Regions from separate parts of the Homo sapiens genome. Here all the other regions are linked to region 1. The links are contacts of gene promoters, found by promoter capture Hi-C in blood cells and fetal thymus (Javierre and others, 2016). All regions are on one chromosome and are shown on one strand. Each heading gives the region's core, a stretch centred on a gene start or on the middle of the fragment in contact. The rest is flanking DNA. Distances are from core to core; before and after follow the strand shown. Region 1 holds the start of NDUFV2 (NADH:ubiquinone oxidoreductase core subunit V2). Region 2 overlaps TWSG1 (twisted gastrulation BMP signaling modulator 1). Region 3 overlaps TWSG1 (twisted gastrulation BMP signaling modulator 1).

What was found. The method cuts DNA at HindIII sites, captures the fragments that hold promoters and counts their contacts. A CHiCAGO score of 5 or more calls a contact.
Region 2: a fragment that was not itself captured here is called in contact with the fragment with the promoter of NDUFV2 in region 1 in 1 of 17 cell types (megakaryocytes); the score reaches 6.3 in megakaryocytes.
Region 3: a contact is called between a fragment that was not itself captured here and the fragment with the promoter of NDUFV2 in region 1, in 1 of 17 cell types (megakaryocytes). The highest score is 5.6, in megakaryocytes.

What each region holds. Positions count from the first base shown.
Region 1 is chr18:9,101,074-9,105,295 of GRCh38, reverse strand. NDUFV2 (NADH:ubiquinone oxidoreductase core subunit V2) reads right to left here and starts at 2,597. Exons shown (of 8, transcript NM_021074.5): 1 at 2,499-2,597. The coding sequence starts at 2,552. RefSeq lists an enhancer at 1,528-2,237 and a silencer at 2,510-2,869. The HindIII fragment of the contact is 6,653 bases long and covers 1-4,222 here.
Region 2 is chr18:9,382,438-9,386,646 of GRCh38, reverse strand. The region is part of intron 3 of TWSG1 (twisted gastrulation BMP signaling modulator 1); the gene reads right to left. Among named protein-coding and RNA genes, the nearest start is that of TWSG1, 50 kb to the right of the region's middle. The HindIII fragment of the contact is 1,593 bases long and covers 789-2,381 here.
Region 3 is chr18:9,401,213-9,405,243 of GRCh38, reverse strand. It overlaps TWSG1 (twisted gastrulation BMP signaling modulator 1), which reads right to left. Exons shown (of 5, transcript NM_020648.6): 5 at 2,824-4,031. LOC105371980 (a long non-coding RNA gene) reads right to left here and starts at 851. Exons shown (of 3, transcript XR_001753550.2): 1 at 448-851. The HindIII fragment of the contact is 739 bases long and covers 2,232-2,970 here.

The sequences.
Region 1 (4,222 bases), core at 1,348-3,847:
CGTCAAGAGAATGGCAGCTAGCAAAGCAGAAATTAGATTAGGCAATTTCTTTGAAAGCGTAAATAATCTTTAAAGGTTTCTCATTTAGGAAAGGAACTTAGGTAGACTTTTCTTGTACTTTTCTTGATACTTGCTAGGTTTAATGTGAAATCTCACTACTTGTGAAAGGTTAGAAGGGCCTGGTTGTATAAGTAATAGAACATCCTCACAATGGAATGCTATGTAGCATTAAAATGACAGTATAGAAATGTCTACTGATAAGGAAAGCTGTTCAGAATACATTACAAAAGAGCAGGCTACCAAACAGTATAAATACCTTTCCATTTTTGTAGAAACAAATTGTCTGTAAGGTCTGTTATGTGTAGACATCAAAATGTTAACAATGGTAATTTCCAGGTTGACAAGACAATGGATGATTTTTATTTTTTGAGCTTACTCTACTTGCTAGTCTCAGTATTGTTTTTTCTACACACGTATGACGTGTGTAATAAAAATTAAACTTATTCATCAACTCAAATATTTATTGTGTACATAGTGCATATCAGGTACTATTTGTTTAAAAAAGGGGGGAGGGTGGAAGGGGGAGGGAGAAGGGGAGACGGATGGAGAGAGAGAAGGAAGGAAGGAGGGAGGGAGAGAAAGAGAGTTCCAGAAACATTAAACCTGGATTACAATGGTCCTCCACTACCTCAAGTTGTTCTTTTTCATTAAAACTGCTTTTCAATTTATACTTCTAGCCCCTTTGCCTCAAAAACAAAAGAAACAAAATCTACAAGCACTCTAATTTCTTTTCTTTCTACCATGTCTGATCCTCATCATCTTTCACCTAGCATTCTGCAAGAGCCTCTTATCTACTTAGTCTCCCTGTTTCTGGGTCCAAATCAAACCCATTCCACCCTCAGTCCTATCCAGTGACCTATCCAAAACAGAAACCACATCTTATTCCTCTACTTTAAAACCTTTCACTGACTCCTGACGGCCTCTAAAATCAAATTCTTTAGTATGGCACGCCAGGAGCTCCAATATCTGGCCCCTGTCTCTCCCTTATTTCATTTGGGAACACACCTTACCTCCAACAGCAGAGGGTGGCTTCTCATACATACCGATCTTTTTCTTGCCAACAAGACTTTAAGTTGTCCTTTCCACCTAGAATACCCTCGGACCCCATGCCCAATCTGTTAGTATTACCTTCAGGAAAAATCTTATGCACCTTGAAACCACATTGGATGACCCTATTCATCTCTCTAACACTGTACTTTTACATTGTCTCAACCTTAAAGTTCCTCTTACATGAGACTATCAATTCCAAAAGAACGGGAACTGTCTAAATCTTTTCCTTATCTGTAATATGAGGAAAAAGTAATACCAGCCTCAAAAATGAGATGTGGAATGTAGATATTTAACTCGGTGCTTGGCATACAGAAAACAGTTATCAAATGACTATCATTATTATCCACACTGTTAACTAGAGCTCAGCAGTGCATGACGTACAGTAAGACTTCAAATGTTTATTGAAAGACTGAACTCTGCAAAAAGGAATATTCCCATTTTACAACTGAAGAAACTGAGGAAGATTAACAGCACAAAGTCATAGAGCCACAAAAGGCAGTTAAGCTAACATCCAAACTCGAGTCTAACTCTAAAGCCCTGAATTCATTCTCAATGAATATACACTAGCTCCCTCTTGCTGAGAACTGACTTAACCTATTTCACTCTTAGAAAACAAACAAAACTAAGGCTTCTTTCCAGTATTACTTGTGTAACAGGCCCTGTTGTTATAATCGACATTTCTGGAAATCTGCATTTTTAGATTAACGTGAAGGAGTGTTTCAACTTCTCTGCAATTCAATTTCCTTGCCTACCATGAGATGTACTTGGATCTCAAAAAGATCATTTAATCTCTAAAATCCTGTGGTTCTTTAATTGGGTGCTGTTATTTGCGGCGCCGTTCTTTCAGAGTTAGTTTGATACCGTTTATTTAGCCAGCATTTCCGATATGCAAAGCACAACTGCAGTAAATCAAACATTGGCCACCCTTTTCCAGCCCTAATGAAGTTCTCCCTAAGCCTTCACGAAGCAAGCCAGAGCTCTCCAGTATGCTGCAACCTAAAAGCATCGAGGTCACTAGGCTTGAAACGAGAGGTGCCTCCTTCGGAGCGACGGTCTTCGAAACTGATCTGGCCAGAGCAGGCCTAGATTCTGCGCTACAGCAAAACAGCAAAAACAAACAAACATATATATATATATCACCAAGCAGCCCCTCTTTTCTGTCCTCCTCGACCAAACTAGGAGTACACTTCCCAGTATGGCAACCCTCCCTCGGGGCTTCTCACGGTGGGGCTGCAGCGGCCTCCCTAAGAGGGCTAAGGCCGCAGTGTCCTTGCCGCCGCCTGCAGGCCCGTGCAGAGCCCAGGGCTCTCCTGCGCCCAAAACTAAGGGAGACACGGAGAGCAAGAGAAGGGCGGCGGCAGCGCCGGGCTCAGCTTGAGCCTCCTTACCCAGTGGGCGGTGAGGCCAGCCGCCCGGGCCCGGAGCGCCGCGGAGAAGAACATGGCGGGCCACACTGTTCACCTTCCCCAGCCGCGCCAGGCGAGAATCCCGAGCGCGCCCAGGGCGCACAGCGTGCGCGCTCCCGACCCCAGGCCTAGGCGACCCGGACGGCACGCCGCTCCCTTCGCCGAGGGGCGGGGGCTGACGGGAGGGAGCGAGGGCGCGCGGGGGCTGCTGGGGCCCTGTGGGCGGAGACTTCCCGGGGGAGGGGCGGGGACCAGTCCGTGCTCGGAAAGGGAGGTGTCCTACGGGCCGCTGCAGGGGTCCCGGCCTTGAAAAGAAGCGTCCCGGAGCTGCACCTTGGGCTCCTGGGTAACGAAGCGCCCGCCTGGATTTATAGGGGTGAGCTTCCCTCATGGAGAGCCTTGTGAGGATTAGCCACCTCCTCTTATATTGCTGTTAGTTAAAAATAAAGTCGGGTTGCAACCCACTATAAATCTTATTCTACATGTTACGAATTCAAGACACAGAGGGCTGCTATCCAGTGTGCTAGCCATAGACACCAAATGTCTTGGTTCCCAATCTTTTGCATTAGAGATATGTGCGACATATTTAGGGGTTAAATGGTATGATGTCTGGAATTTGCTTGAGAATAGTGGGGAGCGGGAGGTGAAAAATAAAGCAAGTTGGCCGTTAAGTAAGGCCATAGAAGCTGCATGGTCGTTCTTATTTACTATTCTCGGTACTTTTGTACATATTAGATATTTTCCATAATAAAGCTGAAAAAAAAACCCACTTCCTTCTTCATGTTTGTTTGGTTATCTCTGGAAATTCCAACAAGTATTTATTCAGTAACAGCTCTAATGTGCACAGCACTATTTCCTGGTGTGGACTTCCTCTTGATTTTTTACGTCACTGCCTTCTTTTCTGGAGTGTCACGTCCTGTACCCACCCCCTTCCTTTTGCCCATTTTCTTTGCTATAATAAACTTGTGAATAATTTCTAGAACATTCACAGCAGCACAGGGATTTTAAAAATTTATCCCTCATTAGTTTAAAAACTCAGAAATATTCCATTGCAACCCCTATGAATCATATTTCGCAAATCACAGAATTCAAGACACAGAGGACTGCTGCCCAGTGAGCTAGAAATAGATACCAAATGCCTTGGTTCCCACTCCTTTGCCTTATATTTTATGTTAGTTTGCCTCTCCTAAATTAGCTTCAGTATTTCCCTTTAAAAGGAAAAGACAGTCTGGCCCTTAATGTAAATGTATTTTGTTATAAAGTTACCTAAATACTTATACACCTGGCCGGGCGCGTGGCTCACGCCTGTAATCCCAGCACTTTGGGAGGCTGAGGTGGGCAGATCACGAGGTCAGGAGATCGAGACCATCCTGGCTAATACGGTGAAACCCCGTCTCTACTGAAAATACAAGACATTAGCCGGGCATGGTGGCAGGCGCCTGTAGTCCCAGCTACTCGGGAGGCTGAGGCAGGGGAATGGCGTGAACCCGGGAGGCGGAGCTTGCAGTGAGCCGAGATCGCGCCACTGCACTCCAGCCTGGGCGACGGAGCGAGACTCCGTCTCAAAAATAAAAAATAAAAAATAAAAATACTTATACACCTAACACTATTGTGCACATACTTACTGTTCTTATACAACTAAAGCCAAAACATGTCACAAATACTTGATGGATGAGATAGACATTATATGGATTCTTTTTGAATCT
Region 2 (4,209 bases), core at 336-2,835, 280 kb before region 1:
TCAGCTTTGGTAATTTTTCTTCTACTATTCGATAATTTCTTCCCTCCTTCCTTTTTTCTTTTTTTTTTAATTCTTCTGGAGTGCCTATTCTTTCCCTGTTATATTATCTGCCTGTTTTCACTATATTCTATGACACTCCAATAATATTTTCAGACTCTCTTATTATTTTTCCAATTGCTTTTTTTTTTTTTTTGAGATGGAGTCTCGCTCTGTCACCCGGGCTGGAGTGCAGTGGTGTGATCTTGGCTCACTGCAAGCTCCGCCTCCTGGGTTCAAGCAATTCTCCTGCCTCCTGAATAGCTGGGATTACAGATGCCCACTACCACGCCCGGCTAATTTTTGTATTTTTAGTACAGACGCGGTTTCACCATGTTAGCCAGGCTGGTCTTGAACTCCTGACCTCAGGTGATCTGCCCACCTCGATCTCCCAAAACGTTGGGATTACAGGTGTGAGCCACCACACTCGGCTTCTTTTTTTTTTTTGAGACAGATTCTCGCTGTGTTGCTCAGGCATCAGTGGCACGATCTCGGCTCACTGCAACCTCCGCCTCCCGGGATCAAGCGATTCTCCTGTCTTAGTCTCCTGAGTATCTGGGACTACAGGCATGCGCCACCACGCCTAGCTAATTTTTGTATTTTTAGTAGAGTTGGGGTTTCGCCATATTGGCCAGGCTGGTCTCGAACTCCTGACCTCAGGTGATCCATCCGCCTTGGCCTCCCAAAGTGCTGGGATTACAGGTGTGAGCCACCATGCCCGGCCCCATTTGAATTTTAAATTTGCAAAAGCTTTCTTATTCTGATTGTTTTTCATAATACAGACATGATACTTTGTTAACTTTTTCTAAAAGATAACAATCAGTTTTTAAAAGATTTCTTTTATGTCCTAAATATTTCCTCCTTGGTCTGCTTTTTACTTCGTTCTTTCTTTTTTTTTTTTTTTTTTTTTTTTTTGAGACGGAGTCTCGCTCTGTCGCCCAGGTCGGACTGCGGACTGCAGTGGCGCAATCTCGGCTCACTGCAAGCTCCGCTTCCCGGGTTCACGCCATTCTCCTGCCTCAGCCTCCCGAGTAGCTGGGACTACAGGCGCCCGCCACCGCGCCCGGCTAATTTTTTGTATTTTTTAGTAGAGACGGGGTTTCACCTTGTTAGCCAGGATGGTCTCGATCTCCTGACCTCATGATCCACCCGCCTCGGCCTCCCAAAGTGCTGGGATTACAGGCGTGAGCCACCGCGCCCGGCCCGTTCTTTCTTTTAAGCTACACTTATTCTATTTTTCTTTCGCATCTAGTCATTAGGCTGGAGACACCTTCCCTCCCTACAATGCCTGAATGAGGAGGCCTTGCCTGGGTACCAATAACACATCAGTGGCCCTACTTCTTTTCAGCTAGTTCCCTTCAATTTCTCTAGAAAGAAATTCTCCAATTTCTTTTTCCTAGAGAAACTTCTTAATTACTTGGAACTTTTTCTGACGAATGGAGGAGGGAATTGGTTATCAAATCATACAGCTGTTCTACAGACAGATCTTCAAATAATCTCGCTATTTTCAAATTCATTTCTCACACCCACACTCCATAAAGCTGCAACTGGAGCCTCTTTGGGGTTTAGCCGGAAAGGTCACTCATACTCTCACCATAACCCCCTTTTATGCAATTTGTTTTGGTGTTCCTTCCAATCTGTTTACTAAAGAGCAAGCACATCTGGGCCGGGTGTGGTGGCTCATGCCTGTAAATCCCAGCACTTTGGGAGGCTGAGGCAGGTGGATCACCTGAGATCAGGAGTTCAAGACCAGCCTGGCCAACAGGGTGAAATCCCATCTCTACTAAAAATACAAAAATTAGCCAGGCATGGTGGCATGTGCCTGTAGTCCCAGCTACTCGGGAGGCTGAGGCAAGAGAATAGCTTAAACCCAGGAGACGGAGGTTGCAGTGAGCCAAGGTTGAGCCACTGCACTCCAGCCCGGGCGACAGAGCAAGACTTTGTCTCCAAAAAAAAAAAAAAAGGGAAAGCACATAAGCACATTTGTCTTTCCTTTTAGATATCTGATGCAGACTCAAATTACAATTGTTCCTTTTATTTATCTTTGTTTTTAGAGTTATTTCCAATCTTATCCCTTTATTTCATTTTACTGGCATCCTAAGTGGAAGGGAAGAAAATATGTGAATTTAGACCATCATATTGAACCAGAAGTCACATTAACTTGAAGGAGTTGGAAAATGTGATCAACCATTACCTGCATATCAATCTACTCATCCATTGATCCATTTCTTCCAGATATTTGTATCCAACTTCCTACAGAACATCGCCACTTGGGAACCTTATAGGCCCCTCAAATTCAACTGTCTCAGTCATCTTCCCTAACATACCTGGGTCTTAGATAAGCTTATCTTGGTTCCCTGTCACAATTTATCCAGTCACATAAACAGAAGCCTAAAGGTTATTCCTGGCTCCCATCACCCCTCAGTTCCCATTTCCAAACTGTCACCAAATCTAGTCGAGTTTAACCTGTAATTATTTTTCTAATGAGGCCACCTCTCTTCATCTCCTCTGCTATCATCCTAGACCAAGCCCCCATTACATTTTGACTGAATTTGGAAACATAATTGTTTAAGGGATTTTAAACTGTCTTCTATTCTCTTTAGAAAACTCCAGCTCCTTTAAAACACACATTATTTAATGTTACCATTCCTTTTCCCTCCTTTTGGCTATTATCTTTGTATACTCAGCCATTTCTCCCCTACTTACTAGTAACTTCAATACCTGGATCACTATCTCATTTCCACCACTGGACCCACTGTCATTCTTGACAATTTCAATATTCACATCAAAGATTCACTCAACACTCTGGCCAAAATTTCAATTCCTTAATGATACTGATTTGTAAATCCACCCTACTTTACCTACCTCATAGGTCAACTTTAATTCCTCCCTTTTCTCAGATCTTATATCCAATTCAAACCAAACTCTGACAGTTTCCCTCCAAAATATTTTCAGAATCTGAGTGCCACCATTTCCACTGCTATCAGTAATCCTAATCAAATCCACCATAATCTTTTACTTGAACTACTGCAACAGTCTCCTAATTTGTTTCTTCTCTTTACATCCTTAAATCTACCTCCATATAAAAGTCAGAATGATCATTTAAAAGTGTAATTCAAGGCCGGGTGCAGTGGCTCATGCCTGTAATCCCAGCACTTTGGGAGGCCGAGGTGGGTGGATCACAAGGTCAGGAGTTCGAGACCAGCCTGGCCAACATGGTGAAAACCTGTCTCTACTAAAAATACAAAAATTAGCTGGGTGTGGTGGTGCACACCTGTAATTTCAGCCACTCAGGAGGCTGAGGCAGGAGAATCGTTTGAACCTGGGAGGCGGAGTCTGCAGTGGCCAAGATCACACCTCTGCACCTCAGCCTGGGTGACAGAGCAAGACTCCATCTCAAAAAAAAAAAAAAAAAACAAAAAAAAAACGTGTAATTCGGATATCACCACCATACACTCTCCAATGAGTTTCCATTATACTTAGGATATAATCCAAACTCCTTTCCATGGTCTCCAACACCTGGTCCTGACCTACCTCTCTCACTCATCATTCTCTACCCTTCTCCTTATTTACAAACATCTAGCCATACTGGTCTTTCTGTTCTTCAAACTTGTATATTTAGTCATTGCATGTAAGACATATTTTGATATTAAGTGGTTCACCTCAACCTTTTTGTTATTGGTTATCTAAAGTTGCTGAGAGTTTGTTGGGGAGAGCCTCTTGTTATTTCTTTTTCTTTTCCCAGCCTCTCTTAATTTATTCTTTTTCCAACAGACTTCTTTTTGTTTTTGTTTTTTTTTTTTTGAGACGGAGTCTTACTCTGTCACCCAGGCTGGAGTGCGGTCACATGATCTCAGCTCACTGCAATCTCTGCCTCCTGGGTTCAAGCAATTCTCCTGCCTTAGACTCCTGAGTAACTGGGATTACAGGCACCCACCACCACGCCCAGCTAATTTTTTTATTTTTAGTAGAGACAGGTTTTCACCATGTTGGCCAGGCGAACTCCTGACCTCAGGTGATCTGCCCGCCTCAGCCTCCCAAAGTGCTGGGATTATAGGTGTGAGCCACCGCACCCAGCCTTTTTTTTTGAGACAGAGTCTCACTCTGTCACCTAGGCTGGAGTGCAGTGGCCCGATATCGGTTCACTGCAACCTCCGCTTCCTGGGATCAAGT
Region 3 (4,031 bases), core at 1,352-3,851, 300 kb before region 1:
ACAAATGCAGTCCACAAACCCAGGGCTGCAACGCATTCTGTCTCATTGTTTTCTTGGAATCAAGTAAAATCCGACTCTGAGCCTCATCCCATCCAACACTGGCCAGGAGAGAGGCTCTGCCACCCATCTTGGGACTCACAGAACCCTGGTGGCAAGTCTTGGGGGCTTTGGACAATGAGGGCTGGGCTGCTAATATTTCTAAGTAGAAACCCCTGGAAAGAAGCAACTGCAGGCTCGGGTTTCCCGTGAGTCACGGGCCGAGAGCGCTGGTCTCCACGGTCAAGAGACCTGGGCCTCTGGGACCTACCTTCCTGGCCCCTCTCTCAGGCCCTCAAAGGCCTCATTCTCTCCCTTCCCCTAGCAGAACACCCCGGAGCCAGGGAGGCTTCAGGAAAACAAGAGATAGGTTCTCTGCCCTTGCTCGACTTCCTAGTGGGTAACTCATACCTTTCCGAGGCAGACGAGCGCAACGGCCTTGCTCTTTGCCTAGAACTGGGGGTGGAAGCAGTAATTACCGGTACACGTGTTCTAGAAAGATTACGCTGGCTGCAGAGGGAAGTACCTAAGTTAGACGGGCAGGAAACACATTTCTGCCATAAAGATATTTCGCCGGTGACTGTGCCTAACTTCAGGGGCTATCTTCAGCCCAGTGAGGGAAGTCCTGTCTCCCTGACTGGCGGGGCGCCTGCACTCTCCAGGCGTCATTCGGTGAGTCACAGCGCGGACTCCAGGTTTCCCAGCATTACTGGGAGGGGGCAGAATTCTTTTCCTCTTTGCATCTGCACGGAGAATTCTCATCTCAAAAGCCAAACCTTGGAGTTGTTGCTGACTCCACACTTCAAGCAGACTTTAAAATAAAAGGAGGTAGAACATACTTTTTTTTTTTTTTTTTAATTGAGACGGAGTTTCACTCTTGTGGCCCAGGCTGGAGGGCAGCGGCGCATTCTCGGCTCACTGCAACCTCCGCTTCCCGGCTTCAAGCGAGTCTCCTGCCTCAGCCTCCTGAGTAGCTGGGATTACAGGCACGTGCCACCACACCTGGCTAATTTTTGTATTTTTTAGTAGAGACGGGGTTTCACCACGTTGGCCAGGCTGGTCTCGAACTCCTAACCTCAGGTGATCTGCCCGCCTCCGCCTCCCAAAGTGTTGGGATTACAGGCGTGAGCCACTGCGCCTGGCCCACATTTACTTTTTACTGGTTAGTTAAAGCTCAAAGGTCAAAGAGCTGTAATGGCTAACACCCACCAGCTAATGGCGCTAATGGCATGTCTGCCTGGCTTACTGAGCTCAGTGCCTGCCAGGTCTGGAGCAGCCCCATGGGGCCGGATGCGCCATGTTGTCTGCAATGTCTCCTGGAGCCTTGGGCTTGGATGCCTCCCCTTCCAGCTCAGCTTCACTCTCTCTGACTGTCCACATGACTAGCTGCTGTGTGGACACCTTCAGCAAAAGCACAGCTTTCCTGGTCAAACGTTGTATCTGTCCTTGAAACTCATCCTACCTTCCGAATGCCCCAGCTCCTTTCTTAAGTCACTCAGGCTGTCCTCTTGAGTTCTTCCCCTCTCTAGATCCCCCAGGCACGAGGCTGCCAAAACATGGACTCTGAAATAAGGTGGATTTTGCCATGGCAGCACAGTTTGTGGCTCTCAATTCTAACAGTATCCTGTGGGAGAGCTGAGAAAGGTTTTTCCCTACCTTGATCCTTCTGCAACTCCTTGCAACCTTTAGATCATTCTTATAAAGTTGGTTGGCATCTGAAGGCCCACAGAGCAAGCAGAATAGTAAAGTATTCATTTAAAAGGTTCCCCCATATTGGAATAAAGCATATGAAAAAGCAGACAGCAAAATGTTCTAAGATCTGTTCTGAGAGAATCTGTAGAGACATCCTGAGAAAAGAACATTCTTTGCTGATTGTTTTTTTTGTTTGTTTGTTTTTTAAGACAGGGTCTTGCTCTGTCACCCAGGCAGAGGTGCAGTGGCACAATCAGGGCTCACTGCAGCTTCCGCCTCCCTGGGCTCAAGTGATCCTCCCACCTCAGCCTCTAGAGTAGGTGGGACTACAGGCACATAATTACTGTGTCTGGAGTTGGCTCCTGCTGGTGGGTTCGTGGTCTTGCTGACTTCAAGAATGGAGCCGCAGACCTTCTCAGTGAGTGTTACAACTCTTAAAGATGGCACGGACCCAAAGAGAGAGCAATAGCAGGGTTTATGGTGAAGAGCAAAAGGACAAAGCTTCCACAGGGTGGAAGGGGACCCGAGCTGGTTGCCGCTGTTGGCTGGGGTGGCTAGCTTTTATTCCCTTATTGGCCCCTCCCCACCATGTTCTGTTTCTGTCCTATCAGAGTGCCCTTTTTTCAATCCTCTCTGCGATTGGCTACTTTTAGGATCCTGCTGATTGGTGTGTTTTACAGAGCACTGATTGGTGCATTTTACAACCCTCTTGCTAGCTACAGAGCGCTGATTGGTGTGTTTTACAGAGCACTGATTGGTGCATTTTACAATGCTCTTGCTAGCTTCAGAGCACTGATTGGTGCATTTTACAATCCTCTTGTAAGACAGAAAAGTTCTCCAAGTCCCCACTCGAAACAAGAAGTCCAGGTGGCTTCACCTCTCATCAACATGCCCGGATAATTTTTTTATTTTTGTAAAGACGAGGTTTCACCATGTTGCCCAGGCTGGTCTTGAACTCCTGAGATCAAGTGATTTGCCCACCTCAGCCTCCCAAAGTGACACCGCACCCGGCCCGCTGATCACTTAAACACTATCTTCTTTAGACAGAATGTCAAATTTATGTCTATGCTGAAGTTAACAAAAAATATGACTCACTCATTTCAATTTTTTATTAAAATACTTTTTTGTTAATAGGGACAACCAAAGAAAAATACACAATTTTATATGTTGTAGATCATATAAAATACAATAAACATAAACTCTTGGGAATGCAGAATAGATTTCAAAATCTTAAAAGAAGCTTTCATAAAAATAAACTTTAGAAATGTGGCTTATATTTACTGCATTTTTTCAGAAAACTTTCTTTTCTCCATTTTAATGCTACCCTGATTATAAATAATGGTCCAAATTTCTAACATCTTATCAATTTTGCTTTCTGGAATTTTAGAAATCACATGTCTAAATGAAGACCTCTTTTTTATACCACCCTACATAAACACAGAATAGATTTTATTTAAATTACCATTTGATTTGGCACCACTATTGTAAATACAATTTTAGTAATAATTAAATGTTATGGGGGAAAAACTAACAGAAAAACCTGCTAACAAGCACAAGTCTTACTATAAGAAAGGATCTTTTATATATGGCTTTTATGATACCCACTGATTTAAAACCTAGTGCTTTAAAAATCTGGTTATAAAAAAAGTAATAACCTAATTTTTTATTAAAAAAGAAAAAAGAATTTTTACCAAAACTTCAATATAGAAGTGAATGTGCTTAGAATGGTAATAGAGGATCTAACTTTTAACCAGGCTATCAACTTCTGGAATATTTACTTTCAATTTGGAAAAATATTGTTATTCAGAACCTGAAATACATTATAAAACTGGAAATGGAATCTTTTAGGTGAATTCTTTCTTTCAAACCCTCATAAATCAGAAAAAATAAGCCAAATTTGAAGGCAAAAGATCTTTACATTTAGGGATAGTTTCTAATGAAAGAAATCAAGATAAGAAAAATCAATTAAAACAATGTGGTTTAAGAAATTATCCTCCTAATGTAGGGGGTGGGAAACAGATATTACATTTTAAAATTTAATGAAGACCTAAAAAATGATAAATGCAGTTTTAAAATATTTGTTGTCATCATTAAGAAAACATTAGGCATGTTGCCAACACACACACAAACATCACTCCACTCACAGTAGGAAATGACTGAAAAACAGCAGAGTTGAACTGCAGCAGGAGACTGCAGATTCCTTTCAGCTTTCTGTCTAAAGTTCCAGAATACTTTCAGCTCTACAGATGCTCATGAAGAAGGGGAGCTAAATGTTTTCAAGGCACTTTTAAATGAGGCATTCT